Linked DNA regions of Homo sapiens: all the other regions are linked to region 1. Evidence: promoter capture Hi-C in human tissues and cell types (Jung and others, 2019). All regions are on one chromosome and are shown on one strand. The core of a region is centred on a gene start or on the middle of the fragment in contact, and the rest is flanking DNA. Distances in the headings are between cores, read along the strand shown. Region 1 holds the start of FOXD2 (forkhead box D2). Region 2 overlaps TRABD2B (TraB domain containing 2B). Region 3 has its middle 29 kb from the start of SLC5A9.

Region 1 (2,700 bases), core at 151-2,650:
TCCCGGAGAGCCCTCGCCGGCGCCCGGGGGTGCTGCCCCGCCGCCACCGTGGCCCATGATGTGGTCTATAGAGAAGGAAGGCCTCTGCCCTGCCCCGGCGCCCCCGCCGCCTGCACCACCGCCCGCGTCCGTCTTGAGGCCCTGGCGCAGAAGTGCGGTGGGCAGACCCGCCGCGGTGCCGGCTGCGGGAGGACTCAGGGACGCCGCGTAGAAGGCTTTGGCGCAGCCCAGCTCCGCGCCCAGGAAGGCGGGCAGGCCTGCGGGGCCCGGGCCCGGGCCCGAGCCTGAGGCAGGCGCAGGAGCTGGGGCCGATCCCGCGCCTGCGAACACCGAGGCCGTCGGAGGTCCGGGTGGAGGCGCGGCGGCGCGGCCTGGGGGTACCGACAGCTGGCAAGGAGCGGCGGCGGCTGCCGCGGCGAAAGCGAAGGCGTGCGGGTGCGGGTGCGGATGCGGGGCCGGCCCCGGCGGGGGTGCGCCGTAGGCCGGGAGAGCCAGCCCGTAGCCGTAGCCGTAGGCGCCGTAGGCAGCGAAGCCGGGCAGGAAAGCGCCGGGATCCCCCGCCGCCGCGGCCCCGCCACGCAGCAGCAGCTCCGGGTGAGGGTGCGGGTGTGGGTGCGGCGGCGGCAGGGGCTGCCGCTTGAAGCGCTTGCGACGCCGCAGGAAGCTGCCGTTGTCGAACATGTCGGCCGACTCCGGGTCCAGCGTCCAGTAGTTGCCCTTGCCCGGGTTGCCCGGCTCGCGGGGGATCTTGACGAAGCAGTCGTTGAGAGAGAGGTTGTGGCGGATGCTGTTCTGCCAGGCGGGGAACTTCTCCCGGTAGTAGGGGAAGCGGCCGCTGATGAACTCGCAGATCTCGCTCAACGTCAGCCGCTTCTTGGGGCTCTGCAGGATGGCCATGGTGATGAGCGCGATGTACGAGTAGGGCGGCTTCACCAGCGGGCTCCGCGTCGCCGCGCCCCCCGACGGCGGTCCCGGCCCGGGCCCCGCTGCGCCGCGGGCCGCCGCGGCGCCTGGCCCCGGGCTCCCCGCTGCGGCCGCCGCCCCCCGGGACGCCAGAGCGCGGGGCTCGCCGTCCGAGCAGCCACCAGACTCCTCCTCGTCCTCGGCTAAGTCTGCCTCGGCTTCCTCCGCGGGAGGCTCGTGGCCGTGGGGGAGCACGTCCCGGGGGGCGCGGGGCCCGGAGCGAGCTGGGAGCTCCCCCCCGCCGCTGCCGCCGCCCACCACGTCTATGTCTGCGTCGGCCTCGGACAGCGCGGCCGGGGAGCTCTCGGAGGACATGATCTCGCAGCAGCAGCTGCCCAGGGTCATGGTGCCGCTGCCGCCGCCGCCGCCACTCTCCGGCTCCGCTCCGGCAGCGGCTCGGGCTCGGCCGCGCTGCCTCTGGGGCGAGTGCGTTTTGCGCGCGGGCGGGGAGGGGGCGGGGGACTGAGGCAGGCAGGGAGGGGTGTCCCCCGGCTCCGCAGCGCCCCCTGGCGGCCCAGCTCGGCCGCGCTCACCTTCCAGGGCACGACCCGCCGGCGGCCCCCGCCACTACCCCGGGAATCCGAGCTGGGACCCGCCGCTGGGGCGCAACGGAAGGAGCTGAGGCTTTCCCTTACCTGGGCGGGCCTCAGCCCCTAGTCCCCTCGGGGTGGCAGTGGTTGGTGGTGGGGGATTGTCCCTCCCGCCTAGCGGCTGCCTAAGGCGGAAGAGCTGCGGGCTAGGGCGGAGCTCCCTGGGCGGGGTGGGGCGAGGCGACAGGGGCGGGCGTAGCGCCTCCGCTGAGGGACCCGGCGGGAACAAACCGCCGCCGCGGCGGGAGCTGGGCTCGAGTGGCCGGAGGCGGGCCCTTGTCTTCGCCGCCGCTCCTGCACCCTGTGCTCCCTGAAGCCGCCGCCTTCAGAACGCTCAGCCCCTGGATGTTAAGGCTCACTCGGGCGCCAGCCGCAGCCAGGGAAGTGGCGGCGGTCCCCACCCGTCCTCTCCCCAAGGCGGCGCCCGGGCCACCGGGCCGAAGCGCAGTGGGAGCGCGAGGCTGAGACGCCGGGACCCACGCCGCCCCAGCGCGGCCCGCCGGCGCCCACCCGAGCCCGCACGGCTTCCAGCCCGAGGGGAGACGCATTCGAGTGATCACCAGGAGCGAACTTGGCGCCCGCAGCCTTGGGCCTGGGAGAGGTGAGATTGCGGCGGCGCCCTCTCCTCCCTCCGCTGTCGGGCCCGCCACCCCTCTCCGCGCGGAGAGGCCGGGCAGAGCGCCGGCCGCTGTGGCCGCGTTCCCGGGGCGCGGGCCGGTCTACTGCTCCGAGTTTGCCTGTTCTCCGACCCTCTGGATCTCGGCATCCGTTTGTCTCAGTCTCTGTGACTATCTCACTCTCCGTGAGTCTCTGTGGAAACGGCATTTGTCTGGATGTCTGTTCATGGGTCTGGGAATCCGCTTAATTTCTCCCTCCCCTCTCCCTGGCCCCAGTTGCCCTGAGGACTGGACACCCCCCACCTTCCTGGCTCCCAGGGTTCTGGGCCCCACCGACAGGCGGCAGGACCTCCTCCGCCCCCTGCCCGACACCCCCTCAGTGAACCCTGACCTCCACCAAGTGTTGCCTTCATCTCTCAAAAGTCTTGTGCAACTAAGGTTGGCCCTGTGCCTTGTTTCTCGCTAGCCGGGTTCCTGCCCATCCTATTAGACCTCTTTCTCCCCCGGCCTCCCTCCAGGACCCAGAAACA
Region 2 (2,700 bases), core at 85-2,584, 550 kb before region 1:
GGAAACAGCGGCAGAAACTGATCCCCTTTCCAAGATCTCTGGCCTTTGTTTTTCCAAGGGAAATGCAATATTGTCCCTGGGGAGGTAAGAAGCCAGATTGATTTGCCGGCCAAATGAAAGGCGGGTTTGTCGGTTCTCCTGCTGGCTCTCCCATAATTGTGGAGTCCTTACCCAGAGGGCCCCAGTGGCAGGAGTATTGGGGCAGTTAGTCACGCCCTGCAGGGTTCTGACTACGCCTGACTCCTTCTCCACGGGGGAAAATCCTGTGTATTCTATGGCCCAGTGCTGATTCCTCTGAACATAGCCGCTTTCTCCCTCTGAAGTGACTTTTCCCTTGCCAGCCTCGGGAGCTGATATTATCTGTGTCGGGACCCCCGGCGCTCACCGCCCATCTCATTTCGGAGGCAGGTTTGTGGGAGGCCTCTCTGTTCAGAGGCCTAGGTCTGGCCTCGATATCTTTTTTAGGATGGGGAGGTGAGGTATCCACCATCACTCTCAACACTCTCTTTGCACCAACCACAGAGGAATCCGACAAAGGCTGAAGGGAGCACACACAAACTCTGGCTAAGCAGCCCCTGTCTTTAATCCGTCTCTCTTAAAACAACAAAACTATCTTTCTTTGGGGTCGGGAGACACTCCTGTTCAACCAAATGATGGCTTTGGTAGGGTGAAAACATTTGCTGGAAAGTGTGTGTGAGGTTATGTTTTAGGAAAAGTTACTGAGAGCCATTCATCGGCCGGGAGGGAGCCTGCTGACAGTCTCCAAAGCTCATGTTTGAAGATCAAACAGACTCCAATTCTATTTCAAAAATGTGCCCAACCCATCACCAGCCTGGGCCCACTCTTAAAATTGTTCTTTGGTCCAGCTCCTCAAAAGAGCTGCAGAAAGCAAGTCCCAAACAAAAGAAAACAGAACTCCTCTTAGTTCCCTAATCTCCATACCCTTCACCACCTGCCAGAGTGTCCAATCATGCCAATTTGTCCTGTTATCATTTTGTAGGGAGGCGATGAAATCTCTCCTCCATCCCCTTGGGCAGCCTTGGACTAAATGGGAAGGGTGGGATTCTGGAGCCTAGGCAGATGAGGTCATTAGGGATCCAAAAATTCAAAATCAGAAATGCAACAGCCTTCTCAGTAAAATTACATGCACGCGTGCACAGTTTGATATGAACATCTGTGATGCATTAGTGCACTGAAATATCTGTTAAGTGCATCAGATTTTTATTTTTTCTTTCCTCGCAGCATTACTGTTATTGCAAAATATTTGGGTTGGGGAGACAGTGAGAGAAGAAGGCGGGAAAAATAAGGCTTAAAACAGTGTCTTTTTGTTAAGATCTGGGATTTTAGTATTAATGTTGTTTTTAAAATTTTTGTATTTTTTTCTGGACAGAAATAACCATAATTTTGCTTGTTAAATGGAGAAAGAAAGCTTAAGTTTTGGAACCCTGGAAAAAGCTTCTTCCACCCTTGCGCAGCTTGGAAGATCAGGTCTATTGTTAGGTTTTGGTCTTTGATTTCAAAATAAACTGAGGGTGCTAGACCCAACATCACCGTGACTTTGCTATGTGACCTTGGGCAAGTCACTTCCTCTCTCTGGGCCCTGTTTTCTTGGTCTGTGAAATAAGACACTGAGATGAGGTCATCATTCAAGCTCCTTCTAGCCCTGACATTCCATAGGATGATTCTAATCAATTCCACGTGCCAGGCACCCTGCAGGAGGCTCCACACGCTTTTCCACTGCATTGAATTCTCATAACAACCCTATGGCTTTCTAAGGTGGGCATCCAGAAATGTTGAATGACTTGCCCAAGGTCACGTGGCTAATAAGGAACAGAGCCAGTCAGCCTGACTCTGTATGAAGGATGTGTTCTCCCAGCTTCCCCACACTGTTTCTCTAGACTTCCTCCTGTCTAGGTATTTGATATCTTCTGTAATCATTCCTTAGTTCTTTCTTCTGTTTCTCTCTCCCCTTTAGGACTTGAGGGCTTAAAATTGTCTTTCTTGGAAAATTTATACTTGTAGAGATATTTCCTTCGGCTATGAGGCTGGTGGTGAGGCAGGTCTCTGAAGGTTTTCTTGTTGTATTGTAGACAGCTCAGCACAGTGGGCTGGAGATAGGAGACTTGCTTCCAGGTGTCAGTCCCAGCCTCAACACTAAAACCAACGTTTTATATATATATATATATATATATATATATATATATATATATATATATATATATATATATATATAAAACCAACGTTTTAAAACCAACAACTTGTATATAATCTTGGGCAAGACTTGGTATGCCCATCCATCCAATGGGGCAGCAATTACCAGTCTTTCAAAGTTGAGCTGGTTTTTGTGGGGACATGAGAAGATACTACCTGTGGGAGGTTGTTGATGGGTTAAAATGACTACTTGGATGTTGGTTTTGTGCTTGGCAAACAGTCTAGGCTGGCTCCAGGGCAGGGAAAGAGGAAGGCTGCATGGGAAGTTGCCACTCCCTTCTCCCAGCAGCCATATCCACTCGTCATCCCTTGTTGAACGTTGGAGTATTAGGAGGCGGTGAGCCCCTGCCCTTGGGGGCCCAAGGATGCCTAAGTCTTGAGTCCAGATCTTATGACAAGCTTGAGACCTGCAGATTTCTATCAGCTCTGCCTGCTGCCACCAGGGACTGGTACCGGCTGCCACTACTTCTCCCTCTAGGGGACCTGAGT
Region 3 (2,700 bases), core at 199-2,698, 760 kb before region 1:
TTATCAAGCCCAAGCAAGATTACATATATTTGTGGTTTATGAGAGTAGGTCATTTTTCCATTTAAGACTTTTTTTTTTGTTTTGAAATAATTATACATTCACAGGAAATTGCAAAGATACAACTGAAAGCAATTGACTTTGGTATCCTAAACCTTTCTATAACTACTTATCAATTTCACGAGGGTTTTGTTTGTTCGTTTTGAGATTCCTTGGGATTTTCTGTAGAAAGAATCATATCATCTACAAAGGCAGTTTTTTTTTCTTTGACTTCAAGTTTTTTTTTTTTTAACTTCTATTTTAGGTGCCGGTTTGTTATGTAGGTAAACTCGTGTAACAGGGGTTTGTTGTACAGATTATTTCATCACCCAGGTATTAAACCTAGTACACATATAGTTATCTTTTCTGCTCCTCTTCCTCCTCCCCACCCTTCACCCTCGAACAGACCCCAGTGTCTGTTGTTCCCTTCTTTGTGTTCATGAGTTTTCATCATTTAACTTCCACTTATAAGTGAGCACATTCGATATTATTTTTTCTGTTTCTGTGTTAGTTTGCTAAGGATAATAGCCCCAGCTCCCACAACAGCTCATGTTCCCACAAAGCACATGATCTTGTTCTTTTTTATGACTGCATAGCATTCCATGGTATATACGTACCACATTTTCTTCATCCAATCTGTCATTGATGGGCATTTAGGTTGATTCCACGTCTTTGCTGTTGTGAACAGTGCTGCAATGAACATTTGCATGCATGTATCTTTATGGTAGAATGATTCATATTCCTCCATGTATATATCTAGTAATGAGACTGCTGGGTCAGATGGTAGTTCTGTTTCAGCTCTTTGAGAAATCACCATACTGCTTTCCACATTGGTTGAACTAATTTGCATTCCCACCAACAATGTATAAGTATTCCCTTTTCCCCACTACCTCTCTAGCACCTATTATTTTTTGACCTTTATAGCCATTCTGACTGGTGTAAGATGGTATCTCACTGTGGTTTTGCTTTGCACTTCTCTAATGATCAGTGATATTGAGCTTCTTTTTTCATAAGCTTGTTGGCTATGTGTGTTTGTCATCTTTTGAAAAATGTCTGTTTATGTCTTTTGCTTACTTTTTAATGGGGTTGCTTATTTTTTTTCTTGTAAATTTGTTTAAGCTCCTTATAGATGCAGGATATTAGACCTTTGTTGGATGCATAGTTTGCAGATATTTTCTCCTCTTCTGTAGGCTATTTATTCTATTGATAGTTTCTTTTGCTGTGCAGAAACTCTTAAGTTTAATTAGATCCCATTTGTTAATGTCTGCTTTTGTTGTGATTGCTTTTGGTGTCTTTGTCATAAAATCTTTGCCTGTTCCTTTTTTTTTTTTTTTTTTTTCCAAGGCAGAAGAATTTTTCTTAGTGCAGAACAAAATGAAAAGTCTCCCATGTCTACTTCTTTCTACACAGACACGGCAACCATCCGATTTCTCAATCTTTTCCCCACCTTTCCCGCCTTTCTATTCCACAAAGCCGCCATTGTCATCCTGGCCCGTTCTCAATGAGCTGTTGGGCACACCTCCCAGACGGGGTGGTGGCCGGGCAGAGGGGCTCCTCACTTCCCAGTAGGGGCTGCCGGGCAGAGGCGCCCCTCACCTCCCGGACGGGGTGGCTGGCCGGGCAGGGGGCTGACCCCCCCACCTCCCTCCAGGACAGGGCGGCTGGCCGGGCAGAGGGGCTCCTCACTTCCCAGTAGGGGCGGCCGGGCAGAGGCGCCCCTCACCTCCCAGACAGGGTGGCTGGCCGGGCGGGGGGCTGACCCCCCCACCTCCCTCCCGGACGGGGCGGCTGGCCGGGCGGGGGGCTGACCCCCCCACCTCCCTCCCCGACGGGGCGGCTGGCTGGGCAGAGGGGCTCCTCACTTCCCAGTAGGGGCGGCCGGGCAGAGGCACCCCTCACCTCCCGGACGGGGCGGCTGGCTGGGCGGGGGGGCTGACCCCCCACACCTCCCTCCCGGACGGGGCGGCTGGCCGGGCGGGGGGCTGACCCCCCCCACCTCCCTCCCAGACGGGGTGGCTGCCGGGCGGAGACGCTCCTCAGTTCCCAGATGGGGTGGCTGCCGGGCGGAGACGCTCCTCACTTCCCAGATGGGGTGGCCCCCGGGCAGAGGGGCTCCTCACTTCTCAGACGGGGTGGTTGCCAGGCAGAGGGTCTCCTCACTTCTCAGACGGGGCGGCCGGGCAGAGACGCTCCTCACCTCCCAGACGGGGTCGCGGCCGGGCAGAGGCGCTCCTCACATCCCAGATGGGGCGGCGGGGCAGAGGCGCTCCCCACATCTCAGACGATGGGCGGCCGGGCAGAGACGCTCCTCACCTCCTAGATGTGATGGCGGCCGGGAAGAGGCGCTCCTCACTTCCTAGATGGGATGGCGGCCGGGCGGAGACGCTCCTCACTTTCCAGACTAGGCAGCCAGGCAGAGGGGCTCCTCACATCCCAGACGATGGGCGGCCAGGCAGAGACACTCCTCACTTCCCAGACGGGGTGGTGGCCGGGCAGAGGCTGCAATCTCGGCACTTTGGGAGGCCAAGGCAGGCGGCTGGGAGGTGTAGGTTGTAGCGAGCCGAGATCACGCCACTGCACTCCAGCCTGGGCACCATTGAGCACTGAGTGAATGAGACTCCGTCTGCAATCGCGGCACCTCGAGAGGCCGAGGCTGGCGGATCA

The links. Contacts are between HindIII fragments. The study calls those that stand out against the background at their distance.
Region 2: a fragment that was not itself captured here is called in contact with the fragment with the promoter of FOXD2 in region 1 in 1 of the 25 tissues and cell types used here (neural progenitor cells).
Region 3: a fragment that was not itself captured here is called in contact with the fragment with the promoter of FOXD2 in region 1 in 1 of the 25 tissues and cell types used here (stomach).

What each region holds. Positions count from the first base shown.
Region 1 is chr1:47,436,744-47,439,443 of GRCh38, reverse strand. FOXD2 (forkhead box D2) reads right to left here and starts at 1,400. Exons shown (of 1, transcript NM_004474.4): 1 at 1-1,400. The coding sequence starts at 1,308. LINC01389 (long intergenic non-protein coding RNA 1389) reads left to right here and starts at 2,127. Exons shown (of 5, transcript NR_126355.1): 1 at 2,127-2,154. RefSeq lists silencers at 1,171-1,350, 1,381-2,280. The HindIII fragment of the contact is 12,527 bases long and covers 1-2,700 here.
Region 2 is chr1:47,990,305-47,993,004 of GRCh38, reverse strand. The region is part of intron 2 of TRABD2B (TraB domain containing 2B); the gene reads left to right. Among named protein-coding and RNA genes, the nearest start is that of TRABD2B, 5.7 kb to the left of the region's middle. The HindIII fragment of the contact is 3,895 bases long and covers 1-2,700 here.
Region 3 is chr1:48,191,980-48,194,679 of GRCh38, reverse strand. No RefSeq gene overlaps it. Among named protein-coding and RNA genes, the nearest start is that of SLC5A9, 29 kb to the left of the region's middle. The HindIII fragment of the contact is 3,743 bases long and covers 1-2,700 here.